Linked DNA regions of Homo sapiens: region 2 is linked to region 1. Evidence: promoter capture Hi-C in human tissues and cell types (Jung and others, 2019). All regions are on one chromosome and are shown on one strand. The core of a region is centred on a gene start or on the middle of the fragment in contact, and the rest is flanking DNA. Distances in the headings are between cores, read along the strand shown. Region 1 holds the start of CLIP2 (CAP-Gly domain containing linker protein 2). Region 2 has its middle 32 kb from the start of GTF2IRD1.

The links. The method cuts DNA at HindIII sites, captures the fragments that hold promoters and counts their contacts. A contact is called where the count stands out against the background at its distance.
Region 2: a fragment that was not itself captured here is called in contact with the fragment with the promoter of CLIP2 in region 1 in 3 of the 25 tissues and cell types used here (dorsolateral prefrontal cortex, hippocampus and spleen).

The regions. Positions count from the first base shown.
Region 1 is chr7:74,287,948-74,291,106 of GRCh38, forward strand. It overlaps CLIP2 (CAP-Gly domain containing linker protein 2), which reads left to right and starts at 1,460. Exons shown (of 17, transcript NM_003388.5): 1 at 1,460-1,787. It overlaps LOC107986742 (a long non-coding RNA gene), which reads right to left and starts at 1,360. Exons shown (of 2, transcript XR_001745024.2): 1 at 1,115-1,360. RefSeq lists silencers at 1,379-1,848, 1,869-1,938 and enhancers at 1,814-2,458, 2,459-3,102. The HindIII fragment of the contact is 6,317 bases long and covers 1-3,159 here.
Region 2 is chr7:74,419,882-74,423,040 of GRCh38, forward strand. No RefSeq gene overlaps it. Among named protein-coding and RNA genes, the nearest start is that of GTF2IRD1, 32 kb to the right of the region's middle. The HindIII fragment of the contact is 8,329 bases long and covers 1-3,159 here.

The DNA of each region.
Region 1 (3,159 bases), core at 210-2,709:
GAGGCAGGAGGATCATTTGAGCCTGGGAGTTTGAGGCTGCAGTGAGCTGTAATCACACCACTGCACTCCAGCCTGGGTGACAGAGTGAGACCCCTTCTCTAAAAAAAGGTTCACTCACTTCTCAAAGATTATGGATACCAAGACAGTTGAGGGGTGGTAATGTTAACTTAGTAAGTTCATTCATTCATTCAACAAATATTACTGGATGTCTACCCTCTGCCAAGCATTGCACTGGGTCCCTTAGGGGATAGGAACAAGATCGTATGTGGCACTTCTCTCCCGCAGAACAGTGGTCTCACCATACAGACCACAACCTCCCCCAACACCCACATTCCTGCACTCAAGGGAAAAGCAGGGACATTTAAGCTGTGCTTTGAAGGGGGAATATGATTTGTCAAACAGAGAAAGGGGGCAGGGCAGGACTGGTAGAACGGCCAGCTAGGTCAAAGGCATCCAGGCGAGCTTATCAAGGGGGGACAGAGGGAAACCAAGCCACAGAAGCCAACCGCAGCCTGGGCATGGACAGGGGCTGGGGCTTGGTCACTGTTTAGTTCCTGAGCTGTCACTTGGCATCTGCCTCTCCACGCAGGAGGGGACCTGGCAGCTGCCTCAACTCCTCTGAAATAGCAGTACATGCATCCTGTCCTGGGGAGGGTTCATTTGTATCTTGGAAGCTGATCACCATGAGATCCTTTTTTTTTTTTCTTTTGGGACGGAGTCTCGCTCTGTCACCCAGGCTGAAGGGCCGTGGCTTGATCATGACTCACTGCAGCCTCGACCTCCTGGGCTCCAGCGATCCTCCCACCCCAGCCTCCCCAGTAGCTGGGACCGCAGGCGCGCGCCCAGCTAATTTTTGTATTTTTTGTAGAGACGAAGGTTACGTTGCCCAGGTTGTTCTCGGACTCTTGGCCTCAGGCGATCTGCACGCCTTGGCTTCCTGAAGTGCTGGGATTACAGGCGTGAGACACTGCCCAGGCTATGAGATCCTTGATAACCATGAGACCCTGTGCCACAGTTCCCCACCCACGCTGGCCCCAACACAGACCTGAAGTTTTCGCCCCAGCTGCACTGTCCCCCTCCTCATCCTTTCTGTCCAGCGCCAACAGCATCTCACCTTCCCAAGCTGCCGTCCTTCCCAATGACCAGAGACATCTTTGCAAGCATAGCATGGCTGGAGGATGCGTTTCACCAAACGCGATGTAAGCACCACCAGGTGCCCAGCGCGGAGGTGGATGTGGGCGAACCCTGGACGCCCCACAAAGGACAGCTGCGGCCTGGGAAGGGAAGGAGATGGAGCGGGGAGAGGGGGAAGAGGTTGCTCCGCGTTTTCCGCCCGCCCGCCTGCTTTCCGCGAGGCACTGAGGCCTGAAAACCGCGAGGCCGCCCACGCGCGCCTGACCCGCCCCCCCCTCCCGCCCGCCCCAGGCCCCGCCCTCCCGCGCCCGCCCCTGCGCCGGCCCCTTTTGTTCCCTCCCGGAGCCGGGCCGCTGGCTCCGCTGGCTCCGCTGGCTCCGCGGGCGCTCAGCTCGGCTCGGCCGCGGGGCGCGCAGGCGGCTGCTGGGCGGCCTCGGTGCGCGCCTCCCGCCTTCCCAGAGACGTGGCGCGAGGCCCGGGCCCTGAGCACCTATCGCGGGGATCCCCGGCGCCAGGAGGGGGTGCAGCCGGTGGGCAGCGCCGCGCAGGGAGGGGCCGCAGCATCCTCGCCCCCCAGCGCGCCCGGGCCCGAGAGGAGGAGGCCGGGGCTCTCCGGGCCTCCCGCCGCTTAGCCTGATGCTGGAAGGACGAAGGTAGGGGCTGCTGGAGGGGCCGAGGGAGGGGGTCGCGCGGGCAACAAAGGACGGAGAGATGCGGGGGGCGGCGGCCTGGCCGAAAGCGGGGCTGCGGGCCCGGAGGCATTGTCGGGGCGTGGGCGGGGGCGGGAGGGTTCGAGGCCGGCCGGTGGGCGTGGGCGGGAGCTGGCTGGGGTGTGCCCCAACTTCCCCGTTGCTTGTAGGAGAGGAGGGGGCACTGCTTGGGGTGCCAGGGTTGGGGGCTATTCCCGGGCTGCGGGTCCCCCTGTTGAAGGCATCACCAGCCTCATCGGGGTCCCTACCCTCGGACGGGGGTTTGGCCCTTCTGTTGGAGGGTCGCCCGTACCCCCTTCCAAGGGCAGAGCAAGACGGCTGGACGCGCCGCAGGGCTCTCTGGGCTCACAGAGCCTGGGGAGCACAGCCTGGTGGGCGCGGCCATGCAGCCCCCATCTCCAAACCTGGGGTCTGGGAGAACAGGGACTGCCCCCCTCTCCTCCCTGCTACACCCTCTGGGGTCGCCTGGCCGATGGCCTTTGCAAAACTTGGTTGAAGTGCTTGGCTGAGGTGGGGTAGGAGGAGATTGAGGCGGGCGGCTTCTCTCAGGGGGTGTCCCCCCAAGCTGGCGCTGGTGGCTGGTGAGGCAGCAGATTTTCTGCCCTCCTCCCGGGGAGGGGCGGCGGCCGCGGAGGATGCTTGGCTGAACCTTCAGGGCCCGCCCGTTTGGACCTTTCAGGCAGAGCTTGGGCCGAGCGGGTGCCCACTGGGCACTGCCACGCAGGCCCCAGCCCCACCCTGGGAAGGACGGGCAGAGGGAGCACCTTGGGGGGAAATCACCCACCCAGCAGTGTGTCCCCCAACGTCTGAGACCCCTCCTCTCACTTCTGGGTGAGAAGTGGGGGTCTGGGATGAGGGGGTCTGCCGTCACTCTTGCGCGATGCCTGAGGGAGGTGGGTGGGGTGGCCTAGGGCTGTGGGCAGAGGAGGAGGAGGGTGCGGGGAGCACCACGTGTGTGCTTCAGAAGCCTCTTCCCTTTCGGTTGTAAATGTAAACAATAAGCCCTTCATTCAGCTGCTGTTACCTGGCCTGGCACTTCTAGGGGCTGGCTGGTCCACAGGACAGCAGCCTCGGTGTCCCCAAAAAGTGCAGCCCCGGGGGTTGATGAGTGCATTAGTGGGGAAGCTGGGGGCATAGAGGGGGTCCCCTGGAGGATGGGGCAGACCAGGAAGCTTCATAGAGCATCTTGCAGAAGTTTGCTGCCAGGTTGCCTGAAGGGGGTTTCGTGCAGGAGAAATAGCGTGAATAAGGGCTTGGAGTCAGAAAAGGAGGCTATTGGGTTAGAGAAACAGCTTAGGATTTAAGGAACTTAGAC
Region 2 (3,159 bases), core at 452-2,951, 130 kb after region 1:
TTTTTTTTTTTTGTAATTTGAGTTTATTTGACCATCTTGATCCGAAATGTTCAAGCTTTTGGCTATAGTTTTCTTCATTTATTTATTCAATATTTTTTAGTAACTCTATTAATTAATTGATTTCCTTCCTTCCTTCCCTCCCTCCCTCCTTCCCTCCCTCCCTCCTTCCCTCCCTCCCTCCTTCTCTTCTTCCTTCCCTCCTCCCTCCCTGCCTCCTTCCTTTCTGCCCACCCACTTTCTTTCTTTCCTTCTTTCTTTCTTTTTCTTTCTTTCCTTTCTTTCTTTCTTTTTTCTTTCTTTTTCTTTCCTTCCTTCTTTCTTTCTCTTTCTTCTTTCTCTTTCTTTCTCTCTTTCTCTCTCTTTCTTTCTTTCTCTTTCCTCCCTTCCTTTATCTCTTTTTCTTTCTTTCTTTTTCCTTCTTTATTTTGAAGTGGAGTCCCGCTCTGTCACCCAAGCTGGAGTGCAGTGGCGCAATCTCTGTTCACTGCAACCTCTGCTTCCCGTGTTCAAGCGATTCTCCTGCCTCAGCCTCCCAAGTAGCTGGGATTACAGGCATGCGCCACCACGCCCAGCTAATTTTGTATTTTTAGTAGAGTCAGGGTTTCACCATGTTGGTTAGGCTGGTCTCAACTCCTAACCTCAGGTGATCCACCCAGAATTGTTTTCTTTAAAACAACTTTTCTGTACTGGACATGGTGGCTCACACCTGTAATCTGGCACTTTGGGAGGTCGAGGCGGGAGGATTGCTTGAGCTTAGGAGTTCGAGACCAGCCTGGGCAACATGGTGAAACCCCAGGCATGGCGGCACATGTCTGTAATCCCAGCTACTGGGGAGGCTGACGTGGGAGGATCACCTGAGTCCAGGAGGCCGAGGCTGCAGTGAGCCATGATCATGCCACTGCCCTCCAGCCTGGATGACAGAGCGAGACCCTGTCTCAAATAAATAAATAATAAATAAATAAATAAAGCTGTTTTTCTTTCTTTCTTTCTTTCTTTCTTTCTTTCTTTCTTTCTTTCTTTCTTTCTTTCGTTTGTTCTTTCTTTCCTTCCTTCTTTCTTTCTTTTATTTCAGTCCTCTTTACTTGAAAGTTTATCTCTTGTTCAGAAAATAAATATGGGCCAGGTGCGGTGGCTCATGCCTGTAATCCTAGCACTCTGGGAGGCTGAAGCAGGAGGCTCACTTGAGCCCAGGAGCTGGAGATCAGTCTGGGCAACATAGTGAGACACTGTATCTTTTTGGGGATTTTTTGGACAGAGTCTTGCTCTGTCGCCAGGCTGGAGTGCAGTGGCGTGACCTTGGCCCTCGGCTCACTGCAACCTCTGCCTCCTGAGATCAACTGATTCTCCTGCCTCAGCCTCCTGAGTAGCTGGGACTACAGGTGTGCGCCACCACACCCAGCTAATTTTTTTGTATTTTTAGTAGAGACAGGGTTTCACCATGTTGGCCAAGATGGTCTCAATCCCTTGACCTCGTGATCCCCCTGTCTCGGCCTCCCAAAGTGCTGGGATTACAGGCACGAGCCATCACGCCCTGCCTGACCCCCAGTATCTTCTTAAAGAAAAAAGAAGAAAAGAAAAGAAACAAGATATTCTTTCTCCCTAATGCCAGTTCTTCATCTGCGGTCCCCTTCTCTGCACCGTCTCTCTGTCTCCTGGGTGGTCATCTCCATCTTCTCAGACTTACGTCTTTAATGTTTGTATTTTTAATCTTTTAATCCCAGACCTGAGGCATTGATCATCTATCTTCTTAAATCACATTTATTTTGTCACTTTATCATTATTTTAAACCTCTTAACTTTTATCTCTTGTGGAGAGTAACTTTTAAGACCAACTTCATAGCTTTTCATTTTAATTTTGTATTTGCTGATTTTAACTTTGTAATACACATTAGCCCTCTCATTTATAAGGTATTCATCTTATTGGTGCTGCTAGTCTTTTAATTTCTTTTATCTGAACTATTTTTCATGATTATAAAGAAAACTCTTGATTTTAAATCTTTGCTGGCTTTTTTTTTTTTTTTTTTTTTGAGACACAGTCTCACTCCATCGCCCATGCTGGAGTGCAGTGGAGTGATCTTGGCTCACTGCAACCTCTGCCTCCTGGGTTCAAGCAATTCTCCTGCCTCAGCCTCCCACATAGCTGAGAATACAGGCATGCGCCACCACGCCCAGCTGATTTTTGTATTGTTAGTAGAGGTGGGGTTTCACCATGTTGGCCAGGCTGGGCTCCAACTCCTGACCTCAAGTGATCCGCCCTCCTTGGCCTCCCAAAGTGCTGGGATTACAGCCGTGAGCCACCATGCTTGGCCTGGCTCTTTCATATCCTGAGCCTGAAAGTCCTTTTTTTTCTCAGTGATTACTTTTTAATCTTCCAGGCATTCATTCAATCCTCACAAAACTCTATGTGGCCACCCCTGTTTGTGTGTTGTTGTTGTTGTTTTTGTTTTTTTTTAGAGACAGGCTCTCACTCTGTCGCCAGGCTTGAGTACTGTGGTGTAATCATCACTCTGCAGCCTCGACCTCCCGGGCTTAAGCGATCCTCCTGCCTCAGCCTCTTGAGTAGCTGGGACTACAAGCACACACCACCACACACAGCTAATTTTTAAATTTTTTGGCCAGGTGCTGTGGCTCATGCCTGTAATCCCAGTGTTTTGGGAGGCTGAGGTGGGAGGATTGTTTGAGCCCAGGAGTTCAAAGCCAGCCTGGGAGACATAGCAAGACCCTGGTCTCTATGAAAAAAAAAGTTATATGTATAACAGGCCAAGGTGGGCTCTGTTGTCAGGCTGGAGTGCAGTGGCGCAGTCTTGGCTCACTGCGACCTCCGACTCTCAGGTTCAAGCGACTCTTCTGCCTCAGCCTCCCGAGTAGCTGGGACTACAGGTGCACGCCACCACGCCCATCTAATTTTCACATTTTTAGTAGAGACAGGGTTTCACCATGTTGGCTAGGACGGTCTTGATCTCTTGACCTCGTGATCCACCCACCTCAGCCTCCCAAAGTGCTGGCATTACAGGTGTGAGCCACCACGCCCGGCCTTATAATTTTTTAACTTCCTGTAGATATGGGGTCTTGTTCTGTTGTCCAGGCTGGTCTCAAATGCCTGGCCCCAGGCAATCTTCCCACCTCAGCCTCCCGAGTAGCTGGGATTAGAGGCATGAGC